2 separate regions of the Homo sapiens genome follow, and region 1 is linked to region 2. Evidence: promoter capture Hi-C in 16 types of primary human blood cells and fetal thymus (Javierre and others, 2016). All regions are on one chromosome and are shown on one strand. Each heading gives the region's core, a stretch centred on a gene start or on the middle of the fragment in contact. The rest is flanking DNA. Distances are from core to core; before and after follow the strand shown.

Region 1 (5,644 bases), core at 722-3,221, 4.1 Mb after region 2:
TGGTGGGGAAGCGCGGGCGCTAACCGCAGGGCTTCCTGGGAGAGCCCCCTCCGAGGTTCGCCACCCCAGCCCTGGCTCCCGCCGCGCTCACCCCGGCACCCCGGCGGCGGGGCAGCCCCCGCAGGATGAGGAAGCGGCTCCGGGGAAGCAGCACCGAGCAGCAGCGGAGCGCCCAACCTGCCGCCTCCCCTCCCGTCCCTGCCTTGGCCCGCGGCTCCGCTCTCCGCGGCTCGCCTTCCGACCTAGCTGCGCACCGGGGCTGTTAACTCACATTTGGGAAGCCATAACCCATTAGAGCAAACGCAGTCATAACTTCATTCAACTCAGCCGCTCGAGAGCTCGGCTTACACAGGTTCCTGTGGGCAACTAGTGGCTCGCCTTGGTGCCTCTCGCCTAGTCATCAGTACCTAAGAGGAAAAGGGAAAGTTGTTGGGCTGGTTCGCGCTTCGACGCATGCAGATGTTCCCAAGGACAAGTCACTTACTCGCCCCCCTCCCCCCAGTCCCCATTTGATCATCACTCACGACCTCATCGGCTGGAGACCCTTAGTCATGATGGGGGAGGGGGAGGGGCACGAACTTTTCTAAGAAGTTTCCTTTTTTTACCCAGAGAGTCACAGTGAGTCGGTCACGTAAACAGCGAGGTTAGTCGTCGCCGTTGCCGCCCCCCACCCCCTCCCTGCTGCGCTTTTCTGGTATTATTATTAAAGCGGTAGTCTGCCGGCGCTGATAAGCAACAAGTTCCCCAGCGGTCTTCCCGCCCTAGCCTGACAAGGCGAAGGTTTTCTTACCTGGCGACAGGGAAATCTCCCGAGCCGAATTCAGCTTCGCCGGAGCCCCAGGTGTGACCTGCGTAGTGGGCAAGGGAGCGGTGTGCAGGCTGAGTTTTTTTTTTTACAGGGGTACCCTGAAACTCCTCACTTTCTCTGGGAACTTTCAGTGCCAGGACCCAGTAACGGGCGGTTAGAAGGCAGCCCTAGGAAACACCTGCTACATAGCAGGGCAGTTGGGCAATCATTGGTAACCTCGCTCATTCATTAGAATCACGTAAGAACTCAAAAGGAAACGTGTCTCTCGGAGTGAGGGCGTTTGCGTAAATCTATAGGTTTTTCGACATCGATGCCAGTTGCTTTGTCTTCTGTAGTCGCCAAGGTGGTTGAGAGTTTAAGCTTGCGGATATTGCAAAGGGTTATTAGATTCATAAGTCACACCAAGTGGTGGGCGATCCACTGAGCAAAGCCGAACTTCTCACATGATGACTTCAAACAAGACACATTACCTTCCAGCATCTGTTGGGGAGACGAGATTTTAAGACACTTGAGTCTCCAGGACAGCAAAGGCACAATGGTGAGTAGCAATAAAACCTGCATTATAATTGAAAAATCTTGACATGTTGCTTAACAACGGGCATATCACGGCTCTTCCTAGCACTTCACACGCCAAAGAACAGCAGCTACTCAGGCCAGGGGAATCGGGTTTTTACACAGTGCAACTTTAATTGGAATCATTTGAGATTTGACACAGCTATGTGGAACTGCGTGGAACAAACTTGGAGCTGGGTGGGGGGGTGTGTGTTATATTGGTTGTTCAAGGCTGATGCTTGTCTCTCAGCAGTCTTGCATTCTATTCTTTTCCTTAATGTGTATGGTGTATGATCATATTCTATGATTTATATGTGGGCATGTAATTGACATTTGCAAGGGGGTTAATTTCCATCTAAAAACAATAATGCTGTTAGAGGTTGGGGTTAGGGGGTGGAGTGGGGGTAAGGGTGGGGTAAAGACTGGGAGTTTAGGTGTAGATGGGGGGTGGGGTTGGGGGGAGAGAAATAAGTCAGAAGTGCATATCACCGGTAATGGGTAATCCTCTCGTAGAAGAAAAGGTTCTCATCAACATGTGATCAACTATTAACAGGATGGCTTTGGCAAAGCCATCCGCACGTGACAAACCGTAAGGAAGTGGAAGAAACCGTCTAGAGCAATATCAAGTATCACTTAATTAGAGATTTTTAAGCCTTTTCCTCCTGCTGTGCCGGGTGTGTAATCCGGGCGATAGGAGTCCATTCAGCACCTTGGACAGAGCCAACGGATTTGTCCGAGGTGGCGGTACCCCCAGGTAGTCTTCTTGGCCCCGCTGTAAAGCCAACCCTGTGTCGCCCTTAAAAAGCGTCTTTTCTGAGGTTCGGCTCACACTGAGATCGGGGCTGGAGAGAGAGTCAGATTTTGGAGCGGAGCGTTTGGAAAGCGAGCCCCAGTTTGGTCCCCTCATTGAGCTCGCTGAAGTTGGCTTCCTAGCGGTGTAGGCTGGAATAGACTCTTGGCAAGCTCCGGGTTGGTATACTGGGTTAACTTTGGGAAATGCAAGTGTTTATCTCCAGGATCTAGCCACCGGGGTGGTGTAAGCCGCAAAGAAGGTAAGCACCAGGGCGGGGACCCCTTGCATCCCCAATTCTTGAGCTATTTTGATACTGTCTTCCGGAGAGGACGCGTGGTGGAGGGGAGGAGGTAGAGGGAGAGCATGAGAGGGGGTTGTTTCTTGGTATTTGCCCAGTTTGAATTGCCCTAGGTGAGAACCCTGGGGCAAAGGGAGAAAGAAAAAAAAGAAACTCAGTCTTCCTGCGGATATAATGAGTTTAGTTAACTTGGACCTGCAAATGTCTGATTCAAATGTAAGATTTATCTCTCTTTTTCTCCTCTTCACCTCCCTCTTTTCCGTTCTCTTTGCTGGTGTGTGTGTGTGTGTGTACAGTAGATTCATTACTAATTATGAAGCTTTTGCAAAACATTCGAATTCCTAAAATTTGACTTTGTAGCATTTAGAATCAGGCGGTGGAGGTGGTGTGCGGTGGGGAGAGGAGGTGGAGGTTGGGAAGAGGGAAGGAGGTAAAGCTAAACCTCCAACACAAAAAAATGAATCAAGGTAATTTCAGCTCTTCTAGTGAGAAGGATTCATTCTCTCTGTATCCCTCCCTCCCTCTCTTTCCCCCTCCCTCCCTCCTTCCCGCCCCCCTTCTTCCACCCCGCCCCCTCCTCCAGCCTCCATCCCTCCCTCATTCTATCTCTTCCTCTCCGTCGCCCTCGCTCCTCGCTGGATGCTTCTTTCTGGGTTTTCTTTTTTTTTTCCCTTCTGTCCTCCCTCCCCGCGAGTTTCGGGCGCTGGCTTAGAGGGTTCCCGCTTTCTCAAGGGAAGGGGAGCTGCCGAGACCGCGCTCCGCTCCCCAGCCGGGCCGGATGCCTCACTGAGCCCAGGTCCGAGTCAGTCGGGGTAACTCAGGGAAAGGGGAGCCTCCGCCTGGGAGTAGAAGGTCCTTTCCGGACCGAAGAGCCAGAGAGCGGGCCGGGCGAGGGGGCCTGGGCGGCTGGAGGCGGTGGAGAAGAACACTTTTAGCTCCGTGCGGCGGCTGGACAGAGCCACCAATCAGCTGGACGCGCAGACCGCCCTGCCAGGGCGAGGTTGCGTCCGGAGGCGCCGGTGGAGGGCGGCCGGCTAGTCGCTGAGCCGCCGCCGCCACCCGGGTGGGCAGGGGACTGGCGGTGGGTGGAGGTGAGGGGCTTGGCGGGTGAGATAGAAGCGGCGCGGAGCCGCCCAGACCTGTGTTCTACCTCTCCCGCCCCCGCCTGCACCCCCGGGGGACAGCGAACTGCCGGAACGCGCGGCTGCGTTATCCTCTTGCCACTCTTCAGGGAGCTCAGGGACTTAGGCGCCCCTGGGCGGGGGCCACCAGGCTCTCCACACTCCTATAACCCTCACCCCCACCCCCTTCTCAGGCCTTTTGTTCCGGCCACAGAGCCAAGCCCGGTGGCAGTTTTCGCCCCAGGGTTTGGTCGTTCTGGACTCCTCCCCCGATCAGCTCTTCTTAATTAAAAGGCAAGAGCTTGGGGTAGGGGTGAGGGGAACGTAGGAAAAATCTGTTTCCGAAACTCAAGACCACTGTTTTAACGAACGAAAGAAAGAATCCCAACTCTGCGCAGGTGGATTCATAGGCGAAGCGAGGATATTGTGGAAATTCAGAAGGAAAAGATAAAAAACAGGCGCTAGGATCAGATGACGGTGATAGGCTGCTCGGCACACAAAGGGAGCGTAGGGCAGGGTTTACGGAGCAAGCCTGCAGCGAATGGGGCACAGATTGTTCCGAGATCCAGTCGTTTTCTCAGTCAGATCTACGCGAAGGGAGGGGAGGGGAGGGGCGGGCAGGGGAGCGTGGCGGGAGGGGCTGAGCTTGGGGGCGGGGGGATTTCTGATCAGTCTGATGCAATTCCAAGCGTGCTGCAAAGGAACTCCAAGGCGCCCGCATCACCATCGCCACCCACCCTTCCCAGATGGTGCTGTTTTAAATACGGATCTGCAGGGCTGAACGCAGAACTGGGAGATTTATTGCAAAATCCCGGGAGGGGCGGGGGGGGGTGGTGTGCGGAACGGGGAATGGAGGAGCAGAATTTAAAGGTGCAACGCTTGCTTTTTCCAATCAGGCGGCAACCGGCCGGAATTATTATTTTTTTCTTTCTGTCTGCTTGTCTCTGGATTCTAATTCACCAAGAAAGAGGTGTAAATATTGTGACATTTTGAGGCAGCTTGATGGATGGGAAAGAAATCATCTGTCACTCTAAATTGCAGAGTTCCCTCTCCCCGCGCCATCCCTTGCTAGCGAATACTCGCTGCTGCCTAATACAGTTGCTAGGGCTTCAAATGAATGCATCGTTAAGGGAATATTATCCTTTTAGTTGACTTGCCAATTTAGTTGACAGTTGAATCGAGAAAATTGTAGATTTCGTGTCTCTGGGAGGAAAAATGCTTAACAGTCTAAGTCTTGTAACCTTGAGGTCTTTAACAACTTAAATAAACCTCAAAAGTGTCACGTCATCCTCTACACACACACACACACACACACACACACACACTCAACTTGTAAGATGACATGGTTTCACCTAAACTGTTGTGGAAATGAATAGCACTTTAAAAATGGTGCACCTGATATTCACTGTTTATGTGTATTTACAAAGAGCTCTTCAGCATGAAGGCAAGACATTTCAATTGTCCTGTTTGGAATCAGTCAGAAGACTAGAAGGTGATGGAGAGAAGAAGGGAAGAAAGAGGAAAGAGAGAGAATTTTAACCTAGATGCTATTAAATTAACAGTAACCTAGCCTACTTTTATACCCCTTGGTCTTGCATATTAATATTTCTGTATGTGAGATTTTAGCTTGGTCTAGCTCCCCCAATGGAGTATACCAGTATTGATTCAGATGAGAATATGAGCATCCTGCCAGTAGCTTTTTCAGTGTCATTGATAGTAAGACCTACAACACAGCAATTTTTGGAGGATAGAAGAGAATATATATAAGGGCTTTGCAAACTGGGAAGCAGGCACTCCATAAATGGGAGGTATCATTATGACATTCTCTTTGCACATATCATTTTCATTTCACTGAACCAGAGTACTAGTTATTTTAAAACATAATCTAATGTATATGCTCAAGGTAGTAAGTGGGGATTTTAAAAGCAAGTGATTAGTTGGCTTATAAAATATTATTTTTCAATTGTCTATTAATGTACATTGGAAAGAAGGCTTTTAAAGATCTAAAATCAACATAAATAAGCTTCCCCTTTCATTTGCCAGACTCTTTCCCTATCAGATTTCTGATCTAA
Region 2 (5,191 bases), core at 8-2,507:
CCCTCCGCTCCCAGGTAACCGCCCGGGCTCCGGCCCCGGCCCGGCTCGGGGCCCGCGGGGCCTCTCCGCTGCCAGCGACTGCTGTCCCCAAATCAAAGCCCGCCCCAAGTGGCCCCGGGGCTTGATTTTTGCTTTTAAAAGGAGGCATACAAAGATGGAAGCGAGTTACTGAGGGAGGGATAGGAAGGGGGGTGGAGGAGGGACTTGTCTTTGCCGAGTGTGCTCTTCTGCAAAAGTAGCAAAATGTTCCACTCCTAAGAGTGGACTTCCAGTCCGGCCCTGAGCTGGGAGTAGGGGGCGGGAGTCTGCTGCTGCTGTCTGCTAAAGCCACTCGCGACCGCGAAAAATGCAGGAGGTGGGGACGCACTTTGCATCCAGACCTCCTCTGCATCGCAGTTCACGACATCCACGCTTGGGAAAGTCCGTACCCGCGCCTGGAGCGCTTAAAGACACCCTGCCGCGGGTCGGGCGAGGTGCAGCAGAAGTTTCCCGCGGTTGCAAAGTGCAGATGGCTGGACCGCAACAAAGTCTAGAGATGGGGTTCGTTTCTCAGAAAGACGCGGAGTACGAAAGAATGCGGCCGACAGAGCTGGGCAGCGCGTAAAGCTCCCAGCGTGTGATTTGAGCTTCACTTCGGAAGACCTAATAATTAGCGATTCTCACTGAGCTAGAACGCGGGCTCCGGTTACTGCGGGCGCTGCGCTGGCTGCCTCGGCGGGAAGCGCGCGGGCGCCATGGGAGCCGGGCCGCCAAGCCCGGGAAAGAGAAGCGCCCACCACCCTGCGGCCCTTGGAGGGCCAGAGCCGGGGCCCGGAAGTGTCCCCTTAGTGAGTCAGGGAAGGGACGACCCAAACTTAGACTAACTTGTGGTTCAGCCGGGCGAAAGTCCTGGGAGCCCGGCCCTAAAAGCAGCTGGAGACGCCCAGGCCGGCTTAGGCGGGGCACCCAAGAACCCCGCCCGGGAGTTTGGGGCGGCCTCTGGGCCAGGCCCCGGCTAGCCCCCAACCCCCACTCCCACTCGCGCTCCTGCGCCCCCTTTCTAGGTCTTCTGGGAGCACCTTCGGAGCTCAGTCACCTGTGACAGGTGTTGGGACCTCCGCCCGACTCCGAGCGGTGGCGCCCCCTGCTCACCTCACCTGGAAACGGGGGACGAGCGCAGTGGCAGTCCGGCCGCACGCCTTACCTGGGCCGGGATCCTCTCCTCCGCGGGTTCCTCTCCCTGGAGCTGGGCGGCGAGCAGGTCGCCTGCTTCGCAGTGGGAAGTGGACCTTCTCCTCCAGTCATAAATCAAACCCAGCCATCCTCGGGCCTCCTCCCTCATTAGAGATGTTTATTGGAGATCGTGTTTATTCGGCTGTCACGGCGAGAAAACGCGGTGACATAATTACCTCTGACCAGAGTCCTCGCTCCGCGCCCAGGGCGAGCCGAGGACCTCCTCTGTCGCCTTCTCATGCCCGTGCCCTTCGTGATCGGAGGGCGCCCGTGATAGGCTTGTCTTTTTTTCCTCAGACCCTCTCATAGAATTTGGATGACTGGAATTACTATTCAGATTTCCCCAGGGCCCGGAGTTTATTTATTTATTTTAGAATTGGAAAGGAAAACCGAAGGGAACCCAACGCCCCTCCGGGGCAGAAGGGGGCAGCGCGCGCGAGGCGGAAGGACAGTCACTCTCGCTGCACAAACTTTCCCGCGGGCCGCGCCGCGCGTGCAGGGGCTGGACGCCACCCGGCGCCAGAGCCGGGCCTGAGGAGCGGGGTCTGGCCGGGAACGAGGGCTGCCAGCCTGGGTGGTGTCATTTGTTGCTTCATTTTTCATTCCCTTTCCTCTCGTGAGGAATCAGAGGCATCGGGCCGCGCGGGCTGAGAATTCTTAAATTCTCCCCGGCCGCATTCGGCTGAGCCAACCCGCAGTTCCTGTCAGCCCCTCTGTCCCCCGGGCAGCGGTTTTCCCCGCTAGCCAGGTTTGGAAGTCACCCTCTGTGAGACTGGGTTAGGAAGTGACGAAAAGCGCCGAATTGTTTTCAAATTGAAAATACTTTTTTTTTTTTTTTTGGAGATAGCGCTGACAAATATATGGGATCCCGGCTTTTGATCCCTGGCTGCCGCCTCTGTTCTCCTGTCGCTAATAAAACTCGCATTGAGCCCCTTAGTGCCTTGATTAACAGGCAGATTAACTCTTACTGGGGTTGGGAACAGCTTGTCCTAATCAATGTCATTTTAAAAGCCCGTCAGGATGCGCTTAGCTTCGGTTCCCTGGATGCTTGAGCGAGCCAGCCATGACATTTGCTCCCTCCCCCTCCCCAGCCTCAAATCCCCCAGTAAAGCCCCCAGTTCCCGCCTGCCTGTTCCCAGGTCTACAACGGGACAAATCGCAGGACCGGGTCGTTGGCCTTTAGAATAGGCAGCGGTTTAGAGAGGGGATATCCAGGGAGAAGGGACTGAGGTGGCCTTGACTTGCTTGCTTTTCCTTTGAAGCTGAACTCTTGCCTCTTGGGGGCAGAGGTTACAGGGAAAAGAGAGATGGGGGGATCGTCACAGGGTGATGAAATGGAAAGCAAACTTTTCTAGGAACCCTATTTGCAAAAATCGGAGAGTGCCGCTGATTTCAGTTGTCCTACATGTCAGGAGTTTTAAACCTAACTCCTATCTGGACAACAGCATGGAGGGACTGGGAGGCAAAGCCTTGGGAGTCTGACCCGCTGGGCTGCTAGGAATCCCTTTGCTGGGAGACTCCACTGGACAATGTTATTTTAAAGGTATTTTGGGGGTGGGCAGGGAGAAGACAGAGAGAGAAAGAGAGAGAGAGAGAGAGAGAGAGAGAGAGAGAGAGAGACAGGCTGGCCTCCCAGAGCGAACGGAAGAGGACTGAGGACTGAACCCAGGGAGCCCCTAGCACTGGCCATTTGGCAGGAGGCGAGGAAGGGCGAGGGCACCGCGGCTTCCCCCCAAGCCGAGCAGTGGCCACAGCCTGAAGGTGCCACGGGGCGGCTCTGGGATCTTCTTGGCTTTTCTAGGCTCTGGGCTCGGCGAGGCTGCCGGGTTAGCGGGAACCGGCAGGTTGCTGGAGAAAGGAGAGGGACAAAGGCCTGGAAGTGGGGGAGGCACCAGGGACTGGGCGGCCGGGATGGGAGCCTTTGCCTTTAGGGCTCACTGGACCCGTTTGCCAGCTCCGCGGACAAGGGATCCCACCTTCCCAGGGTCTGCAAAAAGAGAGACGTTTGGGGCACTACAAAGTGACGCAGGTGTCTGCCAAGACTTTCCTTCTCCAAAAAATGCCAGTCTTCACCCTTTCCAGCGCGCCGGCGCTGCGCCTCTGCTTGACCGGGGAAAGAGAGAGTTTGGAGGTGTCAGAACTGTCAGAACTCCGGATGGGAGGCTCTTGGTTCTGAAGCTGGGAGCTGGAGGCACTTCCCCCCAGAAGTGGGCACTTCTTTGCCTCCCCGAAGGCCTGATGGGGTGGGCACAGGGGAATGCCAGGGATCGGTGCGGGTGAGATGCTTGCCTCACCTCATGTTGACGCATCAATACTGGCTAGAAGCTCTGGGCAGGCTCTGGCGAGCCACGGTCCCCCAGCGGGACTCCCTCCACGCAGACAGCCCCGCTACCGGGTGGGACGACCCCGGCGGCCCCCGCGGGAACGCACCCGCCGGCCTGAGAGGTCCTCCCTCTGGCCACAGGGGGCGGAGGGTAGGGGGGAACAGGGGCCTGTGGGGAGGCGGGGAAAGGAGACAGAACCTAAAGCGCAATCCCCGCCGCCCCCCCGCGTCTTGGAGGGCAGCAAGTGGGCCTCGGGCGTGTTGGTAGCCGCAATTAAAATGGCGACCTGCGAGTTGTCTCGGTTTTGTACACACCTCTGGCAACCGCGCCCGCACCTCAGTCTCGGCCCCCACACCCCTAGGCCGCTTCGCCCCCAGAGCCGGTACTTGGCAGAGGGAGTGAGGCTCCCCACGAGGTAGAACAGCACCCCCACCTTCCTTGAGACCAGTCCAGAGAGAACGAGGAAATCTCACTCTCACCCCTCTCTCCTTAAACTTTGAAAACTCGGCCTCATTCTGGGGTTGAACTCCCCTCCCCAAATATTGACACATGGGAAGCAGCCAAGTCCTTTTTGTTTTTTGTTTGTGCGGAGGAGTTTCCAGGAGTCTTTCCCGGAGCCCCCTTCCCCACCCAATGACGTCAGTGGCATTCACTCCTCGCTCCTTGCCTTTTCTGATTTTTTGTTAAAACTTTTCTCCGCAGCGAGATGGGGGTTGGAGGGGTGGGAGAAGGAGCTGATTCAAAGAGCCAGTGCCCTGGGGGGAAATAGCAACAAGATTACGGCTGCTTCTTTCCGAGGCAAAGCTTAAGAAGGTGCTAATCCACTCGGTCGCTAATTGAGAGGTTGTAAAAATGATACTCGCCTCCAGTTCGGACAGAATCACTTCCCCCCCCCCCGCCCCCCCGCAAGTCCCTCGCTCATGCACAGCGGACTTGAGTCTTGAGTCCAAGCTTCTTTAATGCTCGCTTGGAAAGTAAAAGGAGAGAGAAAGAGAAAGCCGACTTTCGCTGGTCTGGGACTCAGGGCCGCGGCCCCACTTGCCGGCATCCTCCGAAAGTCGCGCTCCTGCGAAATGAAACCTCGCCCAGGAGGCCGCGGACCTGGACACCCGGCGCCACCTCCTTCACCTCTGACCCAGGTTTCCTCCCGGCGCTGCGAGCTCCCGGGGAAGGGTTAGAGCCGGCAGCCCTCCCCAGCCCGGGGAGGGGAGAGGGTTATGCGACCCCACCTCTGGCTAGGGCCGGGGAGGCCTTTGCTTCCCGGGAGCCCTGCCCGGGCTCCTTGGTCGCAGGGCTGCTGGGTCCCAGGCAGGAACGAGAGGGTGAGGCCCACATGTGGCCCGGCGGCCCAGGGCGGCTTGCAGCGTCCTCACTGTCCCGGCTGCCAGGGGCTGCGGCGACGCGGCCAGTCAGCAGCGAGTTCAGGTCGCGCAGATTTTATTGATGAGCTCTGACTTTCAGCACTTTCCCTAAGTCAAGAAGAGTCTAGCGTACCCTTCGGCTGCTTCATTTCAGCCTCCCTGCCTCAGCTCTTCAGCCCTATTCCCCCTCGCCCTGTCCTGGGGTGTGTACAGCAGCCCAGGCCTTCCTTCTCCTTCCCGGCTCCGTGGCCCGAAGCCGCCGAGAGAGCTCGGGACAGCGCAGGACCAGGCAGC

Evidence for each region. The method cuts DNA at HindIII sites, captures the fragments that hold promoters and counts their contacts. A CHiCAGO score of 5 or more calls a contact.
Region 1: a contact is called between a fragment that was not itself captured here and the fragment with the promoter of PAX6-AS1 in region 2, in 1 of 17 cell types (total B cells). The highest score is 5.7, in total B cells.

The regions. Positions count from the first base shown.
Region 1 is chr11:27,717,114-27,722,757 of GRCh38, reverse strand. It overlaps LOC124902652 (a long non-coding RNA gene), which reads right to left and starts at 516. Exons shown (of 2, transcript XR_007062633.1): 1 at 272-516. It also overlaps a transcript of BDNF not described here. RefSeq lists an enhancer at 270-778. The HindIII fragment of the contact is 1,602 bases long and covers 1,171-2,772 here.
Region 2 is chr11:31,812,632-31,817,822 of GRCh38, reverse strand. It overlaps PAX6-AS1 (PAX6 antisense RNA 1), which reads right to left and starts at 1,257. Exons shown (of 3, transcript NR_033971.1): 1 at 1,184-1,257. It also overlaps a transcript of PAX6 not described here. RefSeq lists a promoter at 1-20, enhancers at 1,467-2,228, 4,290-5,191 and a silencer at 3,192-3,446. The HindIII fragment of the contact is 5,434 bases long and covers 1-4,342 here.